3 separate regions of the Homo sapiens genome follow, and all the other regions are linked to region 1. Evidence: promoter capture Hi-C in 16 types of primary human blood cells and fetal thymus (Javierre and others, 2016). All regions are on one chromosome and are shown on one strand. The core of a region is centred on a gene start or on the middle of the fragment in contact, and the rest is flanking DNA. Distances in the headings are between cores, read along the strand shown.

The links. Contacts are between HindIII fragments. The CHiCAGO score rates a contact against its expected background, and 5 or more counts as called.
Region 2: a fragment that was not itself captured here is called in contact with the fragment with the promoter of RMI2 in region 1 in 1 of 17 cell types (neutrophils); the score reaches 7.0 in neutrophils.
Region 3: a fragment that was not itself captured here is called in contact with the fragment with the promoter of RMI2 in region 1 in 2 of 17 cell types (neutrophils and activated CD4 T cells); the score reaches 6.1 in neutrophils.

The regions. Positions count from the first base shown.
Region 1 is chr16:11,342,731-11,347,423 of GRCh38, reverse strand. It overlaps RMI2 (RecQ mediated genome instability 2), which reads right to left and starts at 1,965. Exons shown (of 2, transcript NM_152308.3): 1 at 1,658-1,965. The coding sequence starts at 1,952. The region is part of intron 1 of LOC105371082 (a long non-coding RNA gene); the gene reads right to left. LOC105371083 (a long non-coding RNA gene) reads left to right here and starts at 2,212. Exons shown (of 2, transcript NR_135174.1): 1 at 2,212-2,311. RefSeq lists silencers at 1,637-1,716, 1,737-1,896. The HindIII fragment of the contact is 15,776 bases long and covers 1-4,693 here.
Region 2 is chr16:11,870,773-11,875,585 of GRCh38, reverse strand. It overlaps GSPT1 (G1 to S phase transition 1), which reads left to right. Exons shown (of 15, transcript NM_002094.4): 15 at 2,415-4,813. The coding sequence ends at 2,467. Among named protein-coding and RNA genes, the nearest start is that of RSL1D1, 22 kb to the right of the region's middle. The HindIII fragment of the contact is 9,746 bases long and covers 1-4,813 here.
Region 3 is chr16:11,896,519-11,901,043 of GRCh38, reverse strand. It overlaps GSPT1 (G1 to S phase transition 1), which reads left to right. Exons shown (of 15, transcript NM_002094.4): 2 at 3,009-3,050; 3 at 3,163-3,204; 4 at 4,259-4,486. Among named protein-coding and RNA genes, the nearest start is that of GSPT1, 17 kb to the left of the region's middle. The HindIII fragment of the contact is 4,482 bases long and covers 1-4,016 here.

The sequences.
Region 1 (4,693 bases), core at 716-3,215:
CCTTTCCGAGTCCACAGCAGCTCAGGCCAGACCACAGCCCTATCTGCCTCTAGTTAGACTCCAAGACTGAGCAGGAAGGGCCCTTAGGAATGAAGTGATCTTGGCCTGATTTCCCAGGAGAGGGAGCTGAGGTGAGGGAAGGCCCATGGAGCCTCAGAGCTCCTCAGCTTAGACCTCACATCCTCTAGAAGCCTCCCCGGGCCACTCAGCACCTTGCACATCCTCATGGCTCCCCAAAGATCAGCGATCCTCTGCGACACTTGCTCACTGCCTGTCTCCCAGCAGACTCTATCTAGGTCTCGGCTGCAGCCCAACACTGCACATGAGGGGCTGATGTACAACACGTGCTCAACTGACATCCCAGGGAACAAGTGAGATGGATGCCCATTGCCTATCACTCAAGACTATTGGTTCTTGGAGCACTTATGTGTCAGGAACTGGGCCAGATGCTGAGGATACAGTTGTCAGGACCACACAGCTCTGGCCCTCCAGTAGCTTGGGCTGGCCCAGTGGTTCTCAAAGTATGGCCCCCAAACCAGGCGTGGTGGTACAGGCCTGTAGTCCCAGCTACCCAAGGAGGCTGACGCAGGAGGATTGCTTGAGCTCAGGGCCAGCCTGGGCAACACGGTGAGTCCCCTATCTCAAATAAATAAAACATTTAAAAAGTCGAAAGTATGGTCCCCAGACCAGCAGCATCAGCATCACCTGGGAGCTGGTTAGAAATGCAAATTTCCAGCCCCACCTGGACCTCCTGACTCACAAACCCTGAGGGTGGAGCCCCAGCCATCCCAGCTTTACCAAGCCCTCCAGGAGAGACTGATGCTGGCTCAAGTTTGAGCATCAGTGGTTTAAGAGAGGAAGCAGGCAGGGCGCAGCGGCTCATGTCTGTAATCCCAGCACTTTGGGAGGCCGAGATGAGCAGATCACTTGAGGCCAGGAGTTCGAGACCAGCCTGGCCAACATGGCAAAACCCAGTCTCTGCTAAAAAATACAAAAATTAGCCGGGTGTGGTGGCACATGCCTGTAATCCCAGCTACTCGGGAGGCTGAAGCATGAGAATCGCTTGAATTCGGGAGGTGGAGGCTGCAGTAAGCTGAGGTCGCGCCACTGCACCCCATCCTGGGCGACAGAGTGAGACTCCGTCTCAAAAAAAAAAAAAAAAAAAAAAGAGAGGAGGCAAACATGAGTGAGCTACAGCCCAAGACAGTTCAATTAAGGAGAAGTACAGGAGGGTCTCCCGTTCCTAGGGGCTAGGGAGGACTTCCCTGAGAAAGGCACATTTGAGCTGAGACGTTAAGGATGAGCAGAAGTTTCCCAGGACAGTATTTCCCAAAACAAGGATATCAACTGGGAGAGGGGGCTTGTGACAAACGAAGGTGCCGGAGTCCCTCCCCAGAAGATTCCCACTAGGGGTGGGAGAGTCCCAGGAATCTGTATTTGTAAAAGGGACGGCAGGTGATGCTTATCATCAGATCAACTTCACCAAGGAGGGACCGGAGCAAGGGTACCCAAGCGGGGACCCGCAGGGGCAGAGGCCCGGAGGAGGGCCAGACCCGCCCCGCCCCCGTTCGAGTGTCAACAACAAGATCGAATCTGGCCTCGGCAACTTCTCGGCGGGCAGCAGGGAAGAGGGCGCCCGGTAAGGCCCGGGCATTACCTGGGACTAGACAGGGCCGCCCGCGCGGCACCCGCTCCAGGCCGCGGACCGAGAAGTCCCCGCTCGGGTCCCTCAGCCGAGCCTCGCCGCGGTCCGCCATCACTACCCTGCCCTGCATCCACACGGCCGCCAGGTCCAGCGGCCCGCGGCCCGCCGCCGCCCGTGACAGCCGCCACGCGCCCGGGCCGCCCTCCGCGTCGCGCCGCAGCTGCTCCGCCAGCACCTTGAGTGGCGGCGACCTCGGAAGCCGCACCCCCGCGGGGCCGCCTGAGAACGAGTCCGCAGCCGCCGCCATTCCGCCTCGCCGCACCCTTCCGCCCCGCCTCCGCTTTCCCGCCAACTTTGAGAAGCAGCGGGGCCCGGCCCTCAGCCACCAATCAGGAGCGCGCTGGCAGAGCCGGCCAATGGTCGACGTCAGAAGGCGGGACCGCCGGGCGAAGAGGCCCTCTCTAGCAGCCAGGAGTGCGCATGCGTAGATAAAAGTAAATAAACGCCCTCAAGTTAGGAATGAACGGAGGAAATGGGTTAAACGAGAATAAATAATTGAAGGCAGAGAGGTAAAGAACTTCCTCTTTCAACGCATCTCAAAATTTGGCGTGGATGCAGATCACCTACAGAGTATGATTATTCATCTTTACATTGCCTTGTTTTGAGGTTAGTAAATACTGAAACGAATTAAGAGTCCGTGTTTATTGGGAGTGAGCAAGAATCCAGTCAGGAGATAAGGCTGGGGAGGGAGACGGGGAGAGCTGGCAAACTTGCCTTTTCTTTTATTATTATTTTCAGTTATATTTTAATAGCATCAAATAATTTTAAGGTTAATAAAATATATTGCTATTTTTCAGACAAGAAATGCACATTTATTGTAAAAAAAATAGGGGAAAAATGTAGAACAAGAAAATAATTGTAAAAGCCGCTTATAGATACCCACTGTTAATTTTGGGGTATATTAGCCTTTAGGCTTTAAAATATGTGTGTGTATTTTTTTTGAGACAGGGTCTCACTCTGTTGCCCAGGATGGAGTGCAGTGGCACAGTGACGGCTCACTACAACGTTCACCTCCCGGGCATAGGTGATTCTCCTACCTCAGCCTCCCAAGTATCTCGGACTACAGGCGTGCACCACCACGTCCAGCTAATTTTTGTATTTTTTGTAGAGACAGGGTCTTACCATGTTGCCCAAGGTGGTCTGGAACTCCTGGGATCACGCAATCCTGCCTCCTTGGCCTCCCAAAGTGCTGGGATTACAGGCGTGAGCCACCATGCCTGGCCTATTACTGATATACAAATAGTGTTTTGTATATTGTTTTCACTTAATAATGAACATCTTTCTGTATCAGCAAATATCCATCTGCTTCCTCTTGAATGACTGCATAATACTCGATTTGTCTTATCACATATTAAACCAATATCCTACAGTTGGACATTAAGGCTATTTCCAATTTTTCACTTTATAAATATATCCACTGTGGACCTACTTAAAAGATAAATCTTTTTTATTTATTTATTTATTTATTTTTTTGAGACGGAGTCTCACTCTGTCACCCAGGCTGGAGTGCAGTGGCGCCATCTGGGCTCACTACAAGCTCCGCCTCCCAGGTTCCCGCCATTCTCCTGCCTCAGCCTCCCGAGTAGCTGAGACTACAGGTGCCTGCCACCACGCCCAGCTAATTTTTTGTACTTTGTTTTAGTAGAGACGAGGTTTCACCGTGTTAGCCAGGATGGTCTCGATCTCCTGACCTCGTGATCCACCCGTAAAAGCTAAATCTTTTTGTGCATCCTTCAAATAAAATTCCCAGGAATCTCTCCCTAAAAATTGGATGTCCCCAGTCAGCAAAGTCCACAGATCCTAAATCAGGCAATCCTTAAAGTCAAGGTCAGTTCTTAAGAGAAACTTTGAGTTCCCAGGGCCTCCTGCAGTACCAGGCATTCAGAGAGTATTCAGCAAGAGCTTGATTTTTTTTTTTTTTTTTTTTTGAGACGGAGTCTCGCTGTGTCACCCAGGCAGGAGTGCAGTTGTGCCATCTCAGCTCACTGCAACCTCCGCCTCCCAGGTTCAAGTGATTCTCCTGCCTCAGCCTCCTGAGTAGCTGGGACTACAGGTACACGCCACCCGCCTGGCTAATTTTTGTATTTTTTAGTAGAGACGGGGTTTCGTCATACTGGCCAGGCTAGTCTCAAACTCCTGACCTCGTGATCTGCCCGCTCAGCCTCCCAAAGTGCTGGGATTACAGGCGTCAGCCACCGCACCCGGCCAAGAGCTTCATTTTTATAAAATTGAGCCAGGTCCTATTGTAAGAACTTTGTAGGAAGTATCCCATGTACCCCCACAGACCCTGAAAAGACTGTTCCACACAGGTGAGGAAACTGAGGCTTAAGGAAGCTAGAGGGCTGGCCCATAGACTCTCAGTAGCCTCTATGAGGTTTTGGCCTCTACACCTAATATGGTTTGGCTGTGTCCCCACCCAAATCTCATGTTGAATTGTACTTCCCATAATCCCCACATATCGTGGGAAGGACCCCGTGGTAGGTAATTGAATCATGGGGGCGGATACTCCCATGCTGTTCTCGTGATAGTGAGTGAGTTCTCACAAGATCTGATGGTTTTATAAGGTGCTTTTCCCCCTTTGCTCGGCACTACTTCTTCCTGCTGCCACATAAAGAAGGACGTTTGCTTCCCTTTCTGCCATGATTGTAAGTTTCCTGAGGCCTCCCAGCCCTGCGGAACTGGAGTTAATTAAACCTCTTTCCTTTATAAATTACCCAGTCTTGGACAGTTCTTTATAGCAGTGTGAGAACAGACTAATACAACACCTCAACCCTGACCTATGAAGTAACCAGGCTCCTAGGCTGAGAAAGGAGCAGGAACATTAACCAAGAGAGAATCCAACCCGTTCATGCCTGGTGGGTCCTCACTGACCTTCCCCCGAGGTACCTTAAGGACAGAGAAGTGACGGAGAAGGGAGTTAGCGTGAAGGGAGAAGCCCCCAGGCTTCTTGTATGAGCCTGGGAATCCCCCATCATTCCCTTGGCCTCC
Region 2 (4,813 bases), core at 1,191-3,690, 530 kb before region 1:
TAGTAGTAATGCCAAATCTAGTAATGCTCTACGTGAAGAATCTTAATTTTGATGTTTTGTGAGTAGTGGATTTGGAGGGCTATTTTGTTTACTAAGATATTTCTATGATGTAATCCTTTGTAATATGTCTAGCGATTAAAAGGAACATAGAGATTGATTTTTTTTTTTACACCTAATTTTTCAGAGGTCTAATCTTTGTGACCTTTTGTGTGCATCCATTTCTGCCTACCTCTGGGTGACGCAGAACAACTAACATTCCCATCTTGGGGTCATGAAGTTCTTTGGCATAAAAACAAAATGATTGTTATGAAACGTTTCCTTATGAGCTTTTAATATTCCTGTCCTTTTCCTTTCCCTTTCCCTTTCCCTTTCCTCTTCCCTTTCCTTTCCTTTTTTTGAGATGGAGTCTCGATCTGTCACCCAGGCTGGAGTGCAGTGGCACCATCTTGGCTCACTGCAAGCTCCACCTCCCAGGTTCACGCCATTCTCCTGCCTCAGCCTCCCGAGTAGCTGGGACTATAGGTGCTGCCACCATGCCTGGCTAATTTTTTGTATTTTTGTAGAGACGGGGTTTCACCACGTTAGCCAGGATGGTCTTGATCTCCTGACCTCGTGATCCGCCCGCCTTGGCCTCCCAAAGTGCTGGGATTACAGGCGTGAGCCACCGTGCCCGGCCCAGCTGTTAATATTTCTAACTTAGATAACCATTTTAAGACTATAGAAGACTTTACATAAAACTTTATAGTTCCATTGAAATACAGAATAGTCATTTCACATGTTCATTCCAATTCCATTTAGCAAAAACTACTTTGTATCTACAAAGTGTCAGGAACTGTGCTAAGCCCTGGTGATGAATACAGTTCCTGAACTTTACATTGGATGAAATTGTATAAAGACAGTGTTTATTTTACTTTAAAGGCCCAGAACTCTTCTGGTTGATAGTAAAACTGGTTATTGGGTTTATCTTATTAATATAACAAAATGATAGTTTTAGTTTACCACTCAGAACCTGATAAAATCAGGAAGACAGAAGAAAAGCAATTAATGTAGCAGGAATTCTTAACCCTAGAATTATTTTTTCCTAAAAGCTAACTTGGCTTTAAAAAAAAAAAAAAAAAAAAAAAAAAAAAAGCTAACTTGGCTTTTAGGTTTTCCACAAGACCCAATGGGTTTTGTATCCTTTCAGTCCACAGGATTACTACCAGAAGGACGTGTTCACTGCACTGTAGTCAGTGGTGATTGCTGTGCCTTTTCACAGTTACTTAAGGATAGGTTTTGGGATTTTTTTTTTTAGCAGCTTTATTGAGATACAATTTCCATAATATGAAATTGACCTGTTTTAAGTATGTAATTCAATGAATTTTAGTATGTTTACAGAATTGTACAACCATCACCATATACTAATATTAGAACATTTAGAACACCTAAAAAGAAACCTTACACCTGTTCATAATCACCCCTTATTCCCACCTCCACCCCAGGCAACCATTTTTCAATTTGTCTTTTATAGACACTCCATAAATAGAATTATAAATTATGTGGTCCTTTGTCTAGTTTATTTTACTTAGTGTGATTTTGAGGTTCAACCATGTAACATGTTATTTATTCCTTTGTATCACTGAATAGTACTCCACTGGGTGGATATTCCACAAATACGGATATTCCCTTTTCTTATTTTTAATCCAAAGAGGTTTTTTGGCCCAGTGTGGTGGCTCACCCCTGTAATCCCAGCACTTTGGGAGGCCGAGGCAGGCGGATCACCTGAGGCCAAGAGTTCAAGACCAGCCTGGCCAACATGGTGAAACCCTGCCTCTACTAAAAATATAAAAATTAGAATGGGCATGGTGGCAAGCACCTATACTCCCAGCTACTCAGGAGGCTGAGGCAGGAGAATCACTTGAACCCAGAAGGAGGAGGTTGCAGTCAGCTGAAGTCGCACCACTGCACTCCAGCCTGGGTGACAGAGTAAGACTCTGTCTTTATGCAGTGGCTCATGCCTGTAATCCCAGCACTTTGGGAGGCTGAGGCGGGTGGATCACCTGAGGTCAGGAGTTCAAGACCAGCCTGGCCAACATGGTGAAATCCCGTCTCAACTAAAAATACAAAAATTAGCTGGGCGTGGTGGCAGGCATCTGTATCTCAGCTACTGGGGAGGATGAGGCAGGAGAATTGTTTGGGGGGTACGGGGGGAGATAGGTTTTTGATACAGGGAACCATCTCTTTACCAGCCCCCCCAAATAAGACCCTCTTATTAAGACTACCTAAATAGAAGTATCATGGGTTTGGCAGTAAAGCTAGTTAATTAGTAACTTACATTGTAAAAAATATTTTTGTGATTTAAAATAATAAGTTTTAATATCTTATATAGACTTGCTGTTAACTACTGAAAGATTTTTTTAAAATTTCATTTCTAGGTAAGACCATTGCAATTGGAAAAGTTCTGAAACTGGTTCCAGAGAAAGACTAAGCATTTTCTTGATGACCCTGCACAATACTGTGAGGAAAATTGACTGCAGAAGCCTACTTCACACCGCCTTCTCTTATTTTCTGCCCATTGATAAACCTCTCCCCATATTTTGCAAAGAGGAAATTCACAGCAAAAGTCCACATTATGTCAGCTTTCTCATATTGAGAGCTCTGCTATGCCACTGTTGAATTTTTCCCAAGATTCCTGTCCCTAGCCCTCACTTCAAACTCTGCTTCCTTGGACAGATTTGGCAATAGCTTTGTAAGTGATGTGGACATAATTGCCTACAATAATGAAAACCTACAGGAATTTTTTTATTTTTCATTTTCCCCTTAGGCATATTTAGTATTTTTCCCCCAGGCAGATCATTCTGAGTGTGCGAGTGTGTGTGCACATGTTACAAAGGCAACTACCATGTTAATAAAATATTCAATTTGAAATCCTTTTCGGTATTTGAATTGCTTTTGAATAATGTTTTTTATCTGGATGTAACATTGTTGCATTAGCTTTTTAACTTTCCCAAGTAATTGAATACATTTTATTACTTGGACTTTTATAAACTCTTTCCCTACCCACTATAAATGAGACATTCACAGCGTTCAAGTTTGTATTAAAGGAAAGGATTAGTTTGACCCCTTCTTTTGATGGTTAATGCATACATGCAGTTAAATCCCTTTATGCAAATGTGACACTGCTTTACTAGGTCTTTTAGTTATTTATTTATTTTTTTTTTTTTTGCCAATTTATATTGTAACATGATTTCTTGAACACAGTAAGTTGTTTTAAAATAAAAGAACAGCATACTGTAGTTTTTATAAGTAAAGCGTAATGAAATTGTACCCCTAGAGAAAATTCCATTAACTTGTTAAATTAGTGGAATTAACAACAAATAAAGCATGTTTGAGACCTGGCAAAAATTCCTCTGGTAGTATTTATAAATAGAGCTGCATGCCTCTAGTATGAAAACCGTATCAGTTGCAAGTGCCACTTCTACAAGTTACTCAGTTTACTCTTTGTATCAGTAACTTTAAAGGTTGGATGATCCTTGCTGGTTAAAGCTAAATCTCAACCTAGCAACTAAATGAAAATATTTAGAATCATCAGAATCTGAACAGACTAAAATTATCAGCGATAAGCAGAATCAAGCAGGGTATAAGTTTTATCTCAATTATTTGAAATTGACTGAGTTTTCTTAAGTGTAAAGCTGAAATTTGCTAACCATGTTTTTGATGAACCACAGTGCAGCATTGTGTGGGTTTTAGATTGAATGACTCTCTGCTATAATTATCATGACTTTGAAATTTTTCATGAGAATAAATGAGGAATGGAGGCAATTTGTGGGTTTATCCAAAGCCCCCTTGATGTTGAGTGTTGCCATTGATCAAAGATAGCCTCTTTTAGATTGTGATTTCTCTCTAAATAAGATACTTTGTATATTTAATGACAAGTCTCTTCCCTATAATTTTGCTCCTCAGAAAAGAAAAGCCTAGACAGACTGTATTTCCAGTCACAGAACATAAAACTTAATCTAATGGGTGTTTTGTTTTGTTTTGAGACAGAGGCTCACTCTGTCACCTAGGCTGGAGTGCAGTGGCTCGATCTCAGCTCACTGCAGCCTCCACCTCCCGGATTCAAGCAATTTCCTGCCTCAGCCTCTTGAGTAGCTGGGATTACAGGAGCCCTCCACGAGGCCCAGTTAATTTTTGTATCTTTAGTGGAGACGAGGTTTCCCCCTATTGGTCAGGCTGGTCTCAAACTTCTGACCTCAAGTGATCCACTCGCCTCAGCCTCTCAAAAGTGCTGGGATTACAGGCATGAGGCGCCGCACTTGGCCTAGTGTTTTCTTAACTGTGAAATTCCCATTCATTTCTTGAATGAGGCTACATCTTATGGACAGAGCAAAGTTATTGTCCTACAGATTCTTAAAACTATAATTATGGCTATTGCATGAAATTTAAATAGATTTTATTATGTCTGCAAATCTCTGGGCTTTTATTTTTCTGGAAAATATAGGAGCTTTAATCAAAACATAATAGTTCTTTTTGTAATTCCATGTTAATAAAAACAAATACTAGCAATTGCTTGAATTTTAATGAATATTTAAAAGTTCAAGAGCCACGGAAATCACTTCCAGAGATAAGAGTTCCCTTTCTAAATAGAACACATTTTTAAAAAATAAGTTATGTTTGCTACTAAAACATTTACACTGTTAGACTATTATGTGCATGTTGCCAAGACTCTTAAGTAACTTGGATATCAACTGTGAAGGGCCTACCTCTAAAAAGTAACAGGTCATACAAATACAAATGTAACTGTAAAAATTCCACTGGATTCTTGCATATTTGC
Region 3 (4,525 bases), core at 526-3,025, 550 kb before region 1:
TGCCGCCATTCCCGACAGTTTTTTGTTTTTTGTTTTTTGTTTTTCTTTTTTTGGTACAGGTGGGGTTTTGCCATGTTGCCCAGGCTGGTCTCAAACTCTTGCCATCCTCCCACCTTGGACTCCCAGAGGTTTAGGACTACAGGTGTGAGCCACCATGCCCAACCCATTTGCAACTTACAATCCATTGTAAGTTGAGGAGCCATCTGTATTGTAAATCTAATAGTTGGTGCCAGGAACTAAGTGGTCAGGTGTAAGTACTGTTTTGTTTTGAAAAGCTGTTACAGTTAGTGATACACTTGAGAGTGGTGAGGAAGCCCACCACACCCGTCATTTTCCTGCCTTAAGATACGCAGTACATCATAACTGTGTGTCCGTCAGAGCTTAGTTTACTTGTACACTGATTTTCAGCAGGGACTATCTGAGGAAGGGGAAGATGGCACTTGCATAACTTGGAAATGCCTGCAGTTGATTCTGATGTGCCTGTATGTTAGATGGTAGTGATTACAGGATCTGTTTCCTAAGGCTTTTGGTGGGAATGAGCTAGCAGTCGGCACTTAGGGCTCAATAAAAATTAGTTAAAGCAAATTGCTACCCCCTCCATCCCCCACTCCCTACACAATATGGATTTGTGAGTACTTTTATCCTTGTCTGGCCCATAATAGATACTCAATACATATATATATGTATTCATTTTTATTAATTTTTTTTTTTTTGAGACGGAGTTTCATTCTTGTCCAAGCTGGAGTGCAGTGACGTGATCTTGGCTCACTGCAACCTCCACCTCCCGGGTTCAAGCGATTCTCCTGCCTTGGCCTCCCGAGTAGCTGGGATTACAGGTGTATGCCACACCCAGCTAATTGTTTTGTATTTTCAGTAGAGACAGGGTTTTGCCATGTTGGCCGGGTTGGTCTTGAACTCCCGAACTCAAATGATCCCCCCGCTTCCGCCTCCCAAAGTGTTGGGATTACAGGTGTGAGCCACCGTGCCTGGCTGATACTCAATACATATTGATAGGATTGAGTTGGAGTAGTTACATAGCAGATGGAGACACATTTGTTGAATACGCCAGGAGTTCTTTAACTGACACTAAACAAATTATTCTCCCATTTCCTCCCATAAACTCCTCAACAATCCTCTCAGGTAGATGGTATATCATTTCCACAATTTCAGTGGAATAAGTGCAGGCACAGCTTGTAATAAGCCAGGAGTTAAACCTAGGAGTCAGCTCAGTTCCAGGCTCTGAGAAGTACCCCATGCAGTCACCTCCTTCTTAGGGTGGCCTGTGAACTTGATACTCTCAGTACTACCTGGCTTCCTCTGAAAACTGAGTAATTTTTCCTTACCTTATCCTTAAACTTTTCTTGAAAATGGAAAAGCAAAAAAAAGTTAATCTGTATTGTGTTGAAGTACAGTTTCTGCCTCCTTCCAAACCAGGTTCAAATGCGTTTCCCCCCTGTTTGTTAATGTCCTGCTCATCCCACAGCTTGGGGTCATCTTAGACCTTTTACTCTCCCTTTCTCCCAACTCCTGTCAGGTGTAGCCCCCATCCCCTCCTAGTTGTATTGCTTGGTTGTCTCCATGGCATGCTTTCTTGCAGTGGTGATGTGGGTCTTCCTGCCTGTGGGGTCTTGCCCACTCTAGTTCATGTAGTTTAAGCTGCAAGAAAAAGATCTTCCTAAGTGACAGTCTGAGCCTGTCACTTAAAAAAAAAAAGAAAACAATTTGGTTGTCCTTTACCTATCAGGGACAGGAAATTACTTTACTCAACATTTGATGCTATTGAAGGTTGGGCCCAAAACACTTTCTCTTGACTCTTACAGGTATTGATCCTTTCCGGGCAATGATTTTACAGGTTACAAATTCATTATTTTTTCATACTTGCTGTGCATGATTCATATGATTTAATTCTTTAGTATCGTTTTCTGTCGTGGAGATTCTTTAAAGCAGGGGCACGTTCATATTGGAGTATAATTTAGGTTTGTCTGTATCTGACAAACTAAAATCCAAAAAGCAGACTTAGATATTTGGTTATTAGTATGTATTTCTCCTACATCTCTTCCAGTAATGTCATAAGTAAATTTGCAGTGTGGCAACTGGAAACTGGATTGTTGCTTGGTTTTAGAGTTCTAGTATAGGAAAAAACTGGCATCATTGGAATCACCTTTTCTGCAGATATTTTTAATGGCTTATATATGTTTCAGGACTTTATACACATGTCATTTATCTTATAGGTATCTAATTTATTCAGGGATTTTGATAACATGAGTATGGAATATTAAAAAGGGCTAATCACAGGCTGGATGCGGTGGCTCAAGCCTGTAATCCCAGCACTTTGGGAGGCCGAGGTGGGCAGAACACCTGAGGTCGTAGTTCAAAACCAGCCTGACCAACGTGGCGAAACCCCATCTCTACTAAAAATACAAAATTAGCCGGGCATGGTGGCATGCACCTGTGATCCCAGGTACTCAGGAGGCTGAGGCAGGAGAATCGCTTGAACCGGGGAGATGGAGGTTGCGGTAAGCCAAGATCGTGCCATTGCACTCCAACTCCAGCCTGGGCAACAAGAGTGAAACTCAGTCTCAAAAAAAAAAAAAAAAAAAAAGGGCTAATCACAGCTTTCTTGGGCTGGGTTACCTAGAGAGAATCACGGGAAGTAGATGTGTATTTGTTGAGCACATCTCTAATTTGATCTGTGCTGAGCTGCAAATTACTTTGACAGTATCTGTGAAGAAAAGGTTTATAAAGCAAATCAAAAGAATAAGCATGTTTTTATGAATACATTGAAACTACTGAAAATGTTTCAAAATTGGCTGTAATTAGTAGAATTTTGAAAAGTAGGTTAAGCAGAGACTTCTAACTTGAAGGCCTGAGTTAGCTGCCATTGATCTGGGGTTATTGATTGAGGCTTGTGTCGTGTTATTGAACTTCTGTTTTTACTGCATATTAAAAGATAAGTGAAATGGATGGATAAGTATCAATTTTTAATAGAACTTCTTTCTGTTAAACAGCACCTGTGGAATCCTCTCAAGAGGAACAGTCATTGTGTGAAGGTAATGATGTACTCTTTGAAAGTCTACTTGAGAAAACATTAGGTTGTCTATATGGTGTGTAAAGCTAGATACTGTTTGGTAAATATATATTATATTTCAATCTCTTGTCTAGGTTCAAATTCAGCTGTTAGCATGGAACTTTCAGAACCTATTGGTAAGAAAATTTCTGACCATATTAATACAGTAATATGAAACTCTTTCACTCTCAAGATTTAAGGTGCATTATGTAAGTTACGATTATTGTAATGCCTACATTTAAGACACATTGAGTCTTTGCTATTAGTATTTAGAAAGTAGAACAAACTAGGCACTAACACTGCCTTGATAAACTTAATGATTGCAAATAAAATTGAGTGGAGGAATGGTCAAGTCAATTTAAATACCTGTACCTGTTCTGTTTTCTTTTTTTGAGACGGAGTCTTGCTCTGTCGCCCAGGCTGGAGTGTAGTGGTGCAATCTTGGGTCACTGCAACCTCCGCCTCCCAGGTTCAAGCGCTTCTCCTGCCTCAGCTTCTTGAGTAGCTGGGATTACAGGCGCACACCACCACAACTGGCAAATTTTTGTATTTTTAGTAGAGGCGGGGTTTCACCATGTTGATCAGGATGGTCTCGAACTCCTGACCTCGTGATCCACCCACCTCGGCCTCCGAAAGTGCTGGGATTACAGGTGTGAGCCACCATGCTCGGCCACACGTTCTGTTTTCTTGGTGAAAAATGTTCTTCCTTTTTATAACTTTATTCTTAAGGGTTTCACGTTCTCAGCGTGATTAAAGTTGATGCCAAAGTTTTATTAGTTTAAGAGGAAAAAGAAAATATTTCCTAAATCCTTTCATATTTCTCGTGTGTCACGATTTTAAACTTTCCTTTTTTTCTTACTATCAGGGTGTCTCAACACTGGAATAACTAGGCTGTTGGGAATGTTAGAACTCTTGTTTGCATTTTGTTTGCCATTATGAAAATGAAGCTTTGCTAAAATAGCAATCTCAGCCTGTGAGTCAGTGCCCTCTGATGTGATACCAGCAGTGAGTCTGCCTTGAAAGCTGTCACCCATTTCTGCTATGAAAGAGGTTTTCCTGCTTATGTGTCACTAGGCATTAGGAAATGGAACTACATATGCAAACTTCCATTTGTTGTTTTAAAGCTAGTGTATTTTAAAGTATAGATTGTAAGTCTTTTTCAGAATACTAAGTTAAAATGTCTTTCTTCAGTAGAAAATGGAGAGACAGAAATGTCTCCAGAAGAATCATGGGAGCACAAAGAAGAAATAAGTGAAGCAGAGCCAGGGGGTGGTTCCTTGGGAGATGGAAGGCCGCCAGAGGAAAGTGCCCATGAAATGATGGAGGAGGAAGAGGAAATCCCAAAACCTAAGTCTGTGGTTGCACCGCCAGGTGCTCCTAAGAAAGAGCATGTAAATGTAGTATTCATTGGGCACGTAGGTAAGCTGCTCTCATAGCAATTAAAGTTACTGGATACAT